5 separate regions of the Homo sapiens genome follow, and all the other regions are linked to region 4. Evidence: promoter capture Hi-C in 16 types of primary human blood cells and fetal thymus (Javierre and others, 2016). All regions are on one chromosome and are shown on one strand. Each heading gives the region's core, a stretch centred on a gene start or on the middle of the fragment in contact. The rest is flanking DNA. Distances are from core to core; before and after follow the strand shown.

Region 1 (2,700 bases), core at 201-2,700, 380 kb after region 4:
CTCTCTTTCTCTCTCCCTCCCTCTTTCCCTCTCTCTTTCTCTCTCTCTCTTTTCTTTTCTTTTCTCTTCTTTCTTTTCGACAGAGCCTCACTCTGTTGCCCAGGCAGGAGTGCAATGGCGCCATCTTGGCTCACTGCAACCTCTGTCTCCTGGGTTCTAAGTGATTCTCCTGCCTTAGGCTCCTGAGTAGCTGGGATTACAGGAATGCACCACCATGCCCAGCTAATTTTGTATTTTTAGTAGAGACGGGGTTTCACCATGTTGGCCAGGCTGGTCTCGAACTCCTGACCTCAGGCGATCCACCAGCCTTGGCCTCCCAAAGTGCTGGGATTACAGGCATGAGCCACTGTGCCCGGCTGGAACTGTTTCACATGGAGGAGTGAATGGTTGTTAGTAAACGATAATTTCACATTTCTCTGCCTTCACCATCATTTGACACTTCATCCTGCTTTGTATGATTTCTTATTGTGGTTTATATATCTATATCTTGTCTTCCTAACTAGGTGGGCATTCCTTGAGAATAGAGGCTATGAATTCTATATACCCAGAGTGCCTTGTTATAGGTATCTACTAGATATTAAATGAATAATTTCCTAGTGTTTGAATTAGTGTAATAAAGAAAAATCATGTAGGGCCATTTGGAGTCATTAAGATTGTTAGTTCTGATTTCCAATAATCAGAATATCCAAATTTCTCAAATTAAATTAATTCAAATATTTTCCCAAATCTCATATACATTCCACGTTCTACAGCAGAGGCTCTTTATTAGAGGAGGGGTACAGCCAACAAATGAGGGGCAAGGTTTTCATAATAATGACTGAGACCTAACAGTAAAATTCATCTCCAGAGCACTGCTGCAATGTCTTGGCCTTAAAACTTAATAAAAATGTTAACTATAGTAGCAAAATTTCTATAATCATATAAAAGACCTTCTCAGGAAAAGTAGGCATTTTGATTTATCCTAGCAGGGTTTTTTTTTTTTTTTTTTAATGAAATCTCGCTCTTGTCGCCCAGGTTGGAGTGCAGTGGTGCGATCTCAGCTCACTGCAACCTCTGCCTCCCGGGTTCAAGCGATTCTCCTGCCTCAGCCTCCCAAGTAGCTGGGATTACAGGCGCCTGCCACCACGCCCAGCTAATTTTTTTATTTTTGGTAGAGACGGGGTTTCACCATGTTGGCCAAGGCTGGTCTCGAACTCCTGACCTCAGGCGACCCGCCTGCCTCGGCCTTCCAAAGTAGTGGGATTACAGGCGTGAGCCACCGCCTGGCCCAGGTTTTTTAAATGATGAAATGTCAGATACAAAAGAAAGAGTTCCCTTGTTTCCCTTTTTCCAGGGAGAGATATAATGTTTGTATTGCTTATAGACTTCTTTCAAAGCGTGTTCACGTCTCAGCTTATTTGAATGGCTTCTCATGTTTCTTTTTATTTGGACAGCATTGATTAGCCTCCTTAATTATCAGCTCACCTATCTGAAGTCTATATAAGGCCTCATCAAAATAAGTACAAATTAGCCCAATTAGTGCTCTACCAATTGGCCCCGTACCTGCTAAATGGATGAAATAAAAGGGATTGAGTGAGGTTAATCTTGGAGGATTCTTAAAATGAGTTTCCAGGAAGCTGAGAAAGATGTGGGGACGCCGGGCAGGGTGGCGCCTCTCCTGTTCCTTCTCAGGAGTGCGGAGCGCGGTGGTGCGAGAGGGCTTGGAGGGGGCGCTCAGGCAGGGCGTGGGTTTCCCTCAGATTCAATGATCCTGCTGGGCTCGGTGGAGCGGTCGGAACTGCAGGCCCTCCTGCAGCGCCACCTGTGTCCTGAGCGCAGGCTGCGCGCAGCCCAAGAGATGGCGCGGAAGTTGTCGGAGCTGCCTTACGACGGGAAGGCGCGGCTGGCTGGGGAGGGGCTCCCCGGCGCGCCTCCAGGCCGGCCCGAGTCCTTCGCCTTTGTGGATGAGGATGAGGACGAAGACCTCTCTGGCAAGAGCGAGGTGACCGCGCCGGGAAGGGCTAGGGAGTGGGATAGATCAGGAGCAAAGGGAAAAGCGTCGTCTGGGCTGGGCTGGGCTGGGCTGGGACAGGCGTAGTTTCCCTGAAAGTAGTGGGAAGAGGGAGGGGAGAGTCTGGTAACTGAGAAAGCCAGAAATTCTGGATCAGGTACCATAGAGACCAGTGCCTCTGGGTCCAGGGACTAAAGAAGATAAGGTTGCAGATGATGGTATCCTCGACAATTCAAAGGGATATAGGAATTTCTGAACTGGGGGGAAGAATAGAGTTCGCTTTCCCAGAACATCCACCAACTGGTAAAGGCAGTGAAGGCCCAGGCAGTCTCTGCTCCCAGGCTGAGACTTCTTACTCTTCCTTACAGCTTCCTCCTTCCCTTGCTCTCCACCCCTCTACTACTGCCCCTCTGTCCCCAGAAGAGCCCAATGGGCCTCTGCCTGGCCACAAACAGCAGCCGGAAGCACCAGAGCCTGCAGGTGACGCTCTTCCCTCATGCACCCCAACTCACCCCTTGTGGGTTCTCTCTGGTCACTAGGACCTGACCTTGACCTGCATGCAATTCCTATGCGGGGTGGGGTGGGGGGTGAGGCTGGGGGATTGAGGGAGGACAGGGTTCTTATTCATCAATTCTCCTTGTTACTGTCCCAGGGAGTGGGAGCAGAGGGTGATTTAGGAGGGTAGAAGAGAGGGTGAGGTACCTGGGAAG
Region 2 (2,700 bases), core at 199-2,698, 360 kb after region 4:
TCCCTGCTTGTTCTGTCCTCTGCCTGCCCACCTCCCTCTCTTCCACCTGTTTCTCTGTCTGTCTCTCCCCTAGTAGCAGCCATACTACTACTCTGATATCCTGACGGTGGGCTGTGCTGTGGGAGTCGGCTGTTGTTTTGGGACACCACTTGGAGGCAAGTGATTGACCCCCTCCCCCATCAATCGGCTTGCCTGGCCTGGCTCCCAAAACAGTTTTAATCAGTATCCACAAGTGCTGGTATTACCAGGTTACTTACGAGAATAGCTGACTTTTAGTAAGCCTTTGCTATGTGCCAGGCAATGTTTAAAGCACTTACTTTTATTCCTGGCCAAAGCCATATGAGACAGATATTACAGAGGAGGAAGAGGAGAGAACTGAGTTACAGAGAGGGACAGTGACTTGAGCAAGTTCATTCTGTTAGTAAGGTACAAGCCAGGAATTAAAACCAAGGCAGTCTCCGTGGCTCCCCTACTTATTTTCAAACCTGTTTGTATTGTTGGATGTTTTTGCCCTACACCGATGACATCTCTAACAGGGGACTCTATGAACTTCCTCCTTCAAGGGAAAAATCCACATTTTGTTGTGCTTTATTAATTGCATGGGAATTCAGGTAGACCTTATTTAGATTAATGGTAAGCTTTTAGTGTGGAATAGTTAGGAGAGTTTCAAAGGATAAATGTCCCTTGATAGCAATTTAAAGTTAAGTTTAGCTCTTTCTCCAAGTATAAGGCAAATAGCGATCTCTCAGATTATTTTCCTTATCATGGATGATTAACAAATGGATGTAGTCGGAGAAAGCAGTCGTATCTGTTTATTGACTCATCAAAATCAATTATAGCTAGATTAGCAGGGCAGGATTATATAGATCATTCACTGGATTCATTGATGATAAAAAGGACACCAAGTTGATATGTGAAGAAACAAAATTGCAGGAAGGGCATATGCTTCTTAAATGACCCACTGTTAGAGGTTTCTTTTCAGTTATGGAAATGTTAAGCAATCTTTTCATAGAATCTTCCAGGGAACTAAAATGACTTGGTGCAGGAATGATAAGTGGAGAAGAGTTTAAAGTTAATGCAAATGCATGATCTAACTTATGCAAACACTGTGGCAAAGCACACAGACTAAGGAACCCAAGTTAGCAAGCACATCAGCTAGCATCCTGTTTACATTTCTGTCCTCAGCTCTACTCATTAAAATCACTAATCCTTGTCAGTGGAGGATAGTGTATTTGGATTTTTGCACATGTTAAACGTTCACACTTACATTTATACCCACTTTTGCCTTTATTTACTCGTTAGCCTTTCAAATCCAGGAGGTTTAAATAATATTTTTAGACTGGGAGACTTCTGTTGTTTTGTTTTAATCAGCCAGATTCTCTTAACATGAAGAGAATTTGCATTTTCCTCGTAAAATTGGAATTTCTGAGAAGAATCAGAAAAGTTCTTCTTGGTCCTGTGTCAAGTATGGGAGAGGTAAAGATCACAGAGAAGTTACAGGCAACAGTTCTGAAACCACTGTGGTAGAAAAAGGAAGAAAAAATTCACAGATAAAACATTGCTGTTGACACAAGAAATTGTTAAGTACTTAAAAATTAAGGTGCCATGTTTACGCTGTTTGTATTATGTGGTAAATGACAAAGGTATTTGCAGGTGGCATTACTTGTTTTTTTTGTTTGTTTGTTTGTTTGTTTGTTTAGATGGAGTCTTGCTCTGTCACCCAGGCTGGAGTGCAGTGGCACCATCTTGGCTCACTGCAACCTCTGTCTCCTGGGTTCAAGCAATTCTCATGCCTCAGTCTCCCAAGTAGCTGGGATTACAGGCCTGCGCCATCACGCCTGGCTAATTTTTTGTATTTTTAGTAGAGACAGGGTTTAACCATGTTGGCCAGGCTGCTCTCAACCTCCTGACCTCAAGTGATCCGCCCACCTTGGCCTATTACTTGATTTTTAAAAAAGAATACCGAATAATTCTGAAAGGAAAATTAGTATCAAAATGAGGTATTCATTATGGAGTCAGCTCTTAATTTCTTACACTAATGAAATAAATGGAATTCAGCATTCTACTGAAATGACAAGCATCTTGCTCCCATTCTGTACCAGGCCCTGTGTTGGATCTTGCACACTCAGGGTGCTCCTAGTTGAGAGGCTGGACAGGCAGGCAAACCTATTGTCATAGCTCACTCGAAAAAGTGGCCCAATGGCAGCTGGGGTAAAGTGCAGTGGGGACCTTATGCTAACCTGCCTACAAGAGCCCATGAAGCTTCACAAAAGAGGTGGTGTTTGACATGAGGCTTGAATAATAAGTAGGACTGGCAAGGAGGATGGTGGGCAAGGTATTCTGGACAGAGGAAACAGCATTGCAAAGTCAAGATGGGGGCAGTAGCTGAGTATTACCAGGGGATACAGAGGAAGGAATAATAGCAAATGAGGCTGGACAAGTAAAGGGGGGCTGAATTATGAAGACTCTCATGGCTATGTATAAGAATATGGAATTTATTCTCTAGACTAGGATTTGCACGAATGTGTTTCATGGTTTACTAGATCTAATGTGTAAAAATGGTTCTATAAACCAGTTGGAAAATGCTTGGTTAAAGAGAGTTTTTTTTAAACTAAAAAAGTTATCAGTGGCCAGGCACAGTGGCTCATGCCCATAATCCCAGCACTTTGGGAGGCCAAGGCAGGCGGATCATGAGGTCAG
Region 3 (2,700 bases), core at 130-2,629, 320 kb before region 4:
AAGCTTCATTGTCATCAGCAGACAAGCAAACAATACAATTTTTCAATATATATATATATTTTCCTCATGTAACTTTGAAATGATACTATTTTTCAATTTTCCTCATATAACTTTGATCCTTAACAAAGGGCACAGTTTCAAACAATATGAAATCATGTTAGCAGTAGCAGTTCCCATTTGGGATAATAGGGTTCAACTGTCTATGGAACAATGAGATAAAAACTAGAAGCAGGCAACTGCATAGACAAGATGTGAAATTGAGATGCCATAAGGCTGGACTAGAGGTTGAGACTCTGCAGATTTCAGCATGTAAATAATTGAACTATGGGGACAGAAAATTCCAACCAAATATAGATTTAGATCACAGAGATAAAAGGCATGGAAGTTAAGACTGTGGTATTCTGGTTCCTTATGGAGATTAAAGAAGCCTAAGAGTGAGGAGTGATTAGAACATGGGATGTAAAAACAAAAGAGGGAAAGAGAGAGAGTGAGAGTTTTGTTTTGTCTAGTATTTGATATTTCTAAGAAAATTCGGGAAAAAAATAAAGGTAACCCAGGCAGAAGAAGCCGCAAACACTTCTTGGGTAACAGGGAATAGTTGGTAAAATGTCATATGTTAGTTTACTGAGGTGCACAGAACCTTTTCCACTGAGGTTCCTTTTGGAAAGACACAAGACTTAGCTAAGATTCCAAGAAATCACCAAAGTAGGAAATGAAAAGCCTCCATGAATGAAGTTGCATGAGTCTCCTACCAGTGGATAAAGGATAGGATAGGATAAAAGAATAGCTGCAAAGGATAAAAGAATAGCTGAGGCACTGAAATAGAAGCTCCAAGTGAGAGGACTAAATCTAACAAACATGAAGAATTATTATAAAACCACAACAATAAAAGTGGTGTAATATAAGGGCATTGATATATAAATAGATCCAAGGAAAAAAATACATGTTCATAAACACAGAGCAATGGTACTGCAACAATCAAAGAATATATTTTTCAATAAATGGTGATAGGAAAATTGGGTATCTATATAAAGAAAAATAAGTGCAATTGGACACATCTCAATATATAGCCAAAATCAATCCCAGCTATATTAAAAGCATAATTGTAATAAAATCACAAGGCTTCTAGAATACTGTATAAGAGCACATCTTCATGGCCTTAAAGCAGGGAAAGAGTTCTTATTCCCTCAATCAGTAGGGAACAGATTGATAAAAATGGCTATATCAAAATTAACATATTGAATTTATCAATGTTAATTATGTAACAGTGACAAGATTGACTGTATAGTGACATATCATTAAATATCTATATATTTATACCAAATTAATATCCCTATTTATATTTATATATTCAAGAAAAGCTAGTATATAAATTTTTTAAAAACCTACAAACTAATTTTTCTACAGATCAATGAGAAAAAGGTAACTGTCAATGGAAAAAGTGAGTGAAAACCATAAGCACCTAGCAAAATCTCACTGGTCATTAAACATGTAAATGTGGCTATATTTAATAATCAGGGAAATAGAAATTGAGTCCAACGAAATATATACCCACAAGAATGGCTACGATGATAAAAATAGTAACTATCAAGTGTTGGCAAGGCAAAGTGTCAACAAGAACTCTCTGAATCACTGGCTAGAGTGTATATCGGTAGATCCAGTTTGGAAAACAATTTGGTATTATCTAGTAAAGTTCAAGATGTGTGTACCCACTATCCATCAATTCCACCCTTGAGAAAGGCTTTTCTAGAGAAACCCTTCTACGAAAATCAGGACAAGAATATTCACTGTAATACATCTGTCATGGCAAAAACGTATAAAATATCCAAATGTAACTTAAGAGAAGAATAAATCCTGGTTATTAAAAAGAAATTACACAGCAGTGAAAATTCATGAACTAAAACTAAACACACAAACATGAATGAATTTCACAAATTTGAATGAAAAATTACATTGCAGAAGAAAGGTACAGTATTGTCTCGTTTGTGTAAAGTTTGAAAGCATCTAAAACTAAACACTATTTTGTTTGCTTATGTGCCTATGCATTAAAATATAAAAGAGAAGCAAATAATTACAAAAACAAACACCTCAATAGAGTTAGAGAACAGAGGCATGGAATCTGGGAAAAGAAATAAGAGCTTTCAAATATTCTGGTAATCTTTTATTTCCTGTGCCAAGTTGTTTTTTTAAGTGATCATTCTGTTGGTATTTTATCAAGTTATTATCTATATATTCAAAGTCCATTTTGTAATGTGGAGAAAACAACCTCACTGAACAATTAAATTAGTAAGGAGAAATCTATGGAAAGATATACATTAAGCTGTTAACATTACTTACCTGAAATGAGGATGAGATGGAGGAAGAGAAAAGTAAGCGAAAAAAAAAATCATCAAAAAATGCACAATTTAAAATAAATAGTTACAGAGAGAAAAAGCAAAAAAGGGAGGTTATGTAAAAGAAGCACTAGTAAATGAACAAGCTAAAATACACCAGAAAGAGCTAGAAGGTGAAGTATTTTTCAAAGCAGTCACTAGTTTCAGAATCATAAAGATAGCAATTACAACAGAGATCTGAAATATATAAAAGATAATTAGATAACTAATAGCCAGAAGGAATGTCCAGTCTTGAGTTAGAAACTGATGCTCAAATTAATGGCAAAGGACGTTTTTGAAACAACTGTGAAACTTTGCATAAAAACTA
Region 4 (2,700 bases), core at 28-2,527:
ACAGATGTCTCACAGGGGCCTGTGGGGAAAAGCTCAGAGCTGGGAAAGAAGAGGCAAAAAGACAAGGGCTCCCCCAAGGGGCTAGGCAAAGAACATCAGGTGAGTAACTAAGTGGGGAGCTGATGAAAAAGAAATGGTTAGGATGCAGGGAGGAAGAAGAACCATGGGGACCCCAAGGGTCAGGGTGGGCAGAAGCCCCAGGAGCAGGGACTGGGCCTGGGCCCCAGGGCTGGGGGAGGGCTGACTAGGTTAGGGGGTCTGGGATCTTGCTTACGAGGGCCACAGTTCTGGAAGTTGTAGAACAAAAGCACAGAAAAACAAAGGAGCAGGCCCAAAATCAGGATAGCTGTCAGCACCCGCCTGGCCACTGCCCATGGCCTGCTCCCTTCCACGGGCAGCCTCTCTTCTGGAGTGCTCTGTGGGAGGAACCAAGAGGTGAAAGATACAAGATGGGGGTTGAGAGACAGGGATGGGAAGAAGAGGAGAGAGAATGAATCTGTTGGTGCTACAGTCCCTTTATACAGAAATAATTATCCCAATTCTTCCTAAACCCAGCCCTACTTTAACTCCTGGGAGATGAGAAAACAAGGAATGTCAACTGTTTTGGGTGAGGATGAAGCAGACAGTTAGTAGATGAGTGTTTGTGGGATTTTAGAGCCGAGAGTGACAACATCAGTGTATTCCAGACCCAGGAGAGGAGGCCACTTACCTCTTGGCTCCAGAGAGTTCCCATTCCACCTGCCTGGCTGCGTTCCCTCGGCTCTTCCTCACTTTGGTCCCCACCTTCCTGAAGTGAGTGGAGGGAGAAGGAGGAGAGAGAAGCTGGTTCAGGAAATGGTGCATTGAAGAGAGTTTTATCAGGCCATTTTGATACCCTCGCTGCCTGCCCTGCCCCCACACACATATTTTTATCTCGGAGCAGTGTTCCCAGATGGGCTTCAGAACGAACCTGTCCCCTGAATGTGCCATTTCTCGATCCCTCTCCCATTACCTCCCTCTCTCCCCACCTTTCTACTCTGTAAGCCTTACATTCCCTCCCCTCCAGTGGGGGCAGGACTTTTGCACACAGCCACCCTCACCCCTCCCCGCTAAGCCTCTGACTCCAAAAGGGGACTTACCATCTGTCTATCTTCTGTGGCTCCAGAATCCTTCCTGGTTCCACTCTAGGAGCTGATTCGGAGGACTGGGGTCCAGGAAACACCCCCCGCCCCAGTTCCTTGATCCTGGAGAAGGGGCACTTCTGCTGCTCTTTCGCCTTGTCCCCAGACACACAGGACTGGCCTCTGGGTGGAGCCTGCTTATCAGTGGGGGGCACCCAGGCTTCTCCTCCCCCTTTATCTCAGCTTCTCAGGGGAGAAGAGGGAGGGAGTCTTCACTCCCCAAGCAATCTTGCCCTTGGTCTGCTCCTTTTGTCTTGCACTGTGACTCTGCCCATGAAGTTCCTTTATTTCTAAAATATTCTTCCTTCTCTCATTTCTTCTGTATTAAAAAAAATATGAGGCACAGTAAAATTTTAAAGAGTTTATTTAAGTAAGAAGCAATTCATGAATTGGGGAGCACCAGACCGACAAAGGTTTAGTGTTGCGATGACAAAATGTCAGAGGCAAGCATTTATTGGGAAGTTATAGAAGCAAAATGAAACATTATTTGCTTAGTTTGCAGTTACATAATTGCATTTTTTAGGTAACTTTTTGGAAAGTCCCTAGTCACATAATCATATGTTAGTTGGCTGCTTATCATTGGCTGGGGTTAAGTTTTATTTGTTGTAAGCATTTATCAGAAATTGACCCAAGTTAAGTTTAATTTATGTTTGTAGTTTTAGCAAGAATATGGCTATTTTTAAGGTCTTTGGCTTTGTTTGCCTGGGAATTTTTCAGGCCCAGTCTCCATTTTAATTTTGTTTTCACACCTCTCTGATTGGCTTTTCTGGGATTCATCAATTCCCAGGTCAAATGCCACCTTTCCCAGGAGGCCTCCCAGCTCCATGCCCATTCACACTGTTCCCAAGCATGCTTAATTGTTTCTCTCGGTGTTTCATAGCTCTGCTGGCTGCTGGCAAAGTCATGCATTCAAAAGATCACCCAGCTAGGAGACCCTAATCTGCTAATTATTAGCTCTGTGACAATAAACAAGCCACTTAAACTCTGAGGCAGGTAAGCAAGTTTTGTCATCTGGAAAATGAGGGTAATACTTGCCTATGCCTACCTCATAGGATCTCATGCCTTCTACAAAAGAATAAGGCTTTACTGAGCCCCTCTTTCTTTCATTCTGCTTTCTGTTACACTGATAGCTTGCCTCTTCATCTCCTTAGTGATTGAAAACTATGTCATAGCATGTACAGTGTCTGGTTTTCATTCCTGCCCACCCAAGATGCTTTCTAAATGTTAATAGAAATGAATTGCATTCCAAGCCAGAAATCCTCTTTCTCACATCATATTAAGCCCTTACCTGTGGTCTGAGAGAGGCAAGCACATTTCTGGGGGAAGGTGTTTCAACTCTGTCCTTGTTTCCTCATCCCAGGAAAAAAATAATGTAATTTATTAGGTTAGTCTTGCAAATGATCCCCTGGCGATATTTCCAGATTCCATCAGCACTGTGCTAGGGCCATGGTGCACTTGCCAGGATGAGGGTGGGTGTGGAGAAGTGGAGTAAAGCCATTGTGCCCCCTGGGGCCAGCTGGTCGGGTATCATGAAAGTCAT
Region 5 (2,700 bases), core at 197-2,696, 300 kb after region 4:
AACAATAATAAGAGCTAGCAGTTATTGGAGTACCTCATTCCTCACAACTCGTCATAAGGCAGGTGTTATCATTAGATATTCCCCATGTGTATGCAGGATGAGGAAATAGGTTCAGAGAGGTCAAGTGGCTCACCCAAGGGGCACAGCTAAGTGAAAGGCACTGCAGGCATCTCAAACTACCCCCTTCCCACAAGACTCCACTGCAGAGCAGGACAGTCACCCTGACACCAGCCCAATGGGTTCATCTTGCCCATTACCCAGATGGGGCTAATTTATCAAGACAAGGGAATTGCAATAGAGAAAGAGTTTAATACACATAGAGCCAGCTAAACAGGAGACCAGAGTTTTATTATTACTCAAATTAGCCTCCCAAAATTCGGAGGCAGAGGCTAGGGGACTTTGTGGGTTTTTTTGTTTTTGTTTTTGTTTTTCTTTTGAGAGGGAGTCTTGCTATGTCACCCAGGCTGGAGTGCAGTGGCATGATCTCGGCTCACTGCAACCTCTGCCTCCCGGATTCAAGCAATTCTCCTGACTCAGCCCCCCGAGTAACTGGGATTACAGGCACATGCCACCATGCCCGGCTAATTTTTGCATTTTTAGTAGAGACAGGGTTTCACCATGTGGGCCAGAGTGGTCTTGAACTCCTGACCTCAAGTGATCCACCCACCTCAGCCTCCCAAAGTGCTGGGATTACAGGCGTGAGCCACCATGCCCGCCGGCTAGAGTTTTTTAATGATAGTTTGATGGGCAAGGGGCTAGAGAATGGGTGCTGCTAATTGGTTGGGGATGCAATCACAGGGGTGTGGAAAACCGTCCTCAGTGCACCGAGTTGCATTTGGATGCGGGCCACAGAGGAGTCACTGGTCCAGGTGGAGTCATCCTGTCATTAGAAATGGAAAAGTCTGAGAAGGTATCTTCAAAGGCCAGTCTTAGGTTCTACAAAAGTGGTTATTTACAGGAATAATTGGGGAAGTTGCAGAGCTTGTGACCTCTGGAACAATGTCTGGTAATTGTTAATGCCTACATCTTAGCAGAATTCAGGCCCCTCTCATAATCCTAAACTTGTGGACTTTTATTAGTTTTATAAAACTGGTTTAGTTTGGGGAAGGGCTATTATCATTTAAACTATAAACTAAATTTCTCCCTATATTAGCTCGTCCCATGCTCAGGAATGACCAAGGGCAGTTTGGAGGTTAAAGGCACGATGGAGTTGGTGAGTTCAGATCTGTTTCACCTTCGTAATTTTCTCACTGTTAAAATTTTTGCAAAGGCGATTGCAGCGCCCCTTGTCCACACCTGCGCGCTCCCCAAGGGGTCCCTACCCACCCCGCCCCTGGCTGGGGGCCGTAGGCTGGCCCTGCCCCGCTGCGCCGGAGGTGGACCTCTACCAGGGCAGTTTCTCTCTGAGGCTGCGCGCTAAGGCGGTGGGCGGTCCCAGGCAGGCCCAGAAGCTGGGCAGCCTCTGCCGGGTTCCGGGAAAAGGAGCTCCTGCTGCCACTGCTCTTCCGGAGCCTGCAGCATGGGGCCCCTGCCGCGCACCGTGGAGCTCTTCTATGACGTGCTGTCCCCCTACTCCTGGCTGGGCTTCGAGGTGACGCTGGGAGGGGTCGCCTCGGCAGTGTCTGGGGAGTGAGGGCGGAGGGAAGAGTGAGCGCAGGGCTCCGGGACAGAGGTCTCGTGTAACTCCTGGCGCCGCCCAAGGGGTTAAGGCAAGCAGGGAGAGCTCCGGGGCTGAAGGTCACTTTGTGCTTTTAAACGGAATAGAGTCGCTGGCTCCAACCCGAGCCTTTATATCCCGACTGCAGTTTCCCACGGTGGTGGAAAGAGGGGCGGCTCCAAACATTCAGGGAGAAATGCAGAACACGGCCACCTCTTAGCCCAACGATGGCAGTTTTGGGGAAAACTGGCCACAGGAGCGAAGATCCTGGAATAGATTTCTAGTAGTGAGGAGAGTTTTGCCAATTTCAAACCAAACAATGTAGGGTGTCCGCATAACCCCTGCTCTGCACTTAGCGCCTCCCTTCCCTTTCCCTCGGCTCTTTCACTTTTCCATCTTGCACACTGGCAATCGTTCTTGACCTCTGCCCGCAGATCCTGTGCCGGTATCAGAATATCTGGAACATCAACCTGCAGTTGCGGCCCAGCCTCATAACAGGGATCATGAAAGACAGTGGTAGGAAGGGAGGGTCGGGGCAGGGGTGATCTCAGTGGCCCAAGAGAGCCGACCCCAGCGGGTCCTTATATTGGCACTGGCAGCCAGAAAGCTGCCCTCTGCCCCGTCTCTACTAAAAATACAAAATTAGCCGGGCGTGGTAGTGCATGCCTGTATACCACAGCTACTCGGGAGGCTGAGGCGGGAGAATCGCTTGAACCCAGGAGGCGGAGGTTGCGGTGAGCTGAGATCGCACCATTGCACTCCAGCCTGGGCAACAAGAGCGAAACAACAAGAGAAAAAAAAGGAAGCTGCCCTCTGCCCAAAACCCACGTCGAGGTCCCCAAACCTGGGACCCTTAGGTCTTTTCTCACTTAGCGTGCCCAACCTTCTCCTGGCAGGAAACAAGCCTCCAGGTCTGCTTCCCCGCAAAGGACTATACATGGCAAATGACTTAAAGCTCCTGAGACACCATCTCCAGATTCCCATCCACTTCCCCAAGGATTTCTTGTCTGTGATGCTTGAAAAAGGTGAAGAGAGTGGGATGT

What was found. The method cuts DNA at HindIII sites, captures the fragments that hold promoters and counts their contacts. A CHiCAGO score of 5 or more calls a contact.
Region 1: a fragment that was not itself captured here is called in contact with the fragment with the promoter of KEL in region 4 in 1 of 17 cell types (neutrophils); the score reaches 5.8 in neutrophils.
Region 2: a contact is called between a fragment that was not itself captured here and the fragment with the promoter of KEL in region 4, in 1 of 17 cell types (neutrophils). The highest score is 5.4, in neutrophils.
Region 3: a contact is called between a fragment that was not itself captured here and the fragment with the promoter of KEL in region 4, in 1 of 17 cell types (M2 macrophages). The highest score is 5.6, in M2 macrophages.
Region 5: a contact is called between the fragment with the promoter of GSTK1 here and the fragment with the promoter of KEL in region 4, in 3 of 17 cell types (neutrophils, erythroblasts and M0 macrophages). The highest score is 11.7, in neutrophils.

What each region holds. Positions count from the first base shown.
Region 1 is chr7:143,343,782-143,346,481 of GRCh38, forward strand. CLCN1 (chloride voltage-gated channel 1) reads left to right here. Exons shown (of 23, transcript NM_000083.3): 17 at 1,740-1,981; 18 at 2,359-2,470. Among named protein-coding and RNA genes, the nearest start is that of FAM131B-AS1, 17 kb to the right of the region's middle. RefSeq lists silencers at 1,635-1,929, 1,736-1,815. The HindIII fragment of the contact is 4,049 bases long and covers 1-2,700 here.
Region 2 is chr7:143,324,338-143,327,037 of GRCh38, forward strand. CLCN1 (chloride voltage-gated channel 1) reads left to right here. Exons shown (of 23, transcript NM_000083.3): 7 at 77-155. Among named protein-coding and RNA genes, the nearest start is that of CLCN1, 9.6 kb to the left of the region's middle. The HindIII fragment of the contact is 1,624 bases long and covers 637-2,260 here.
Region 3 is chr7:142,642,782-142,645,481 of GRCh38, forward strand. It overlaps TRB. Among named protein-coding and RNA genes, the nearest start is that of PRSS1, 110 kb to the right of the region's middle. The HindIII fragment of the contact is 2,756 bases long and covers 2-2,700 here.
Region 4 is chr7:142,961,086-142,963,785 of GRCh38, forward strand. KEL (Kell metallo-endopeptidase (Kell blood group)) reads right to left here and starts at 1,278. Exons shown (of 19, transcript NM_000420.3): 1 at 1,119-1,278; 2 at 710-787; 3 at 275-416; 4 at 1-19. The coding sequence starts at 1,121. RefSeq lists a silencer at 1,042-1,237. The HindIII fragment of the contact is 12,002 bases long and covers 1-2,700 here.
Region 5 is chr7:143,261,995-143,264,694 of GRCh38, forward strand. GSTK1 (glutathione S-transferase kappa 1) reads left to right here and starts at 1,447. Exons shown (of 8, transcript NM_015917.3): 1 at 1,447-1,591; 2 at 2,092-2,173; 3 at 2,554-2,682. The coding sequence starts at 1,520. The region is part of intron 2 of TMEM139-AS1 (TMEM139 antisense RNA 1); the gene reads right to left. LOC105375546 (a long non-coding RNA gene) reads left to right here. Exons shown (of 3, transcript XR_007060569.1): 3 at 1,154-1,213. RefSeq lists a silencer at 1,265-1,334 and enhancers at 1,362-1,656, 1,475-1,694. The HindIII fragment of the contact is 19,965 bases long and covers 1-2,700 here.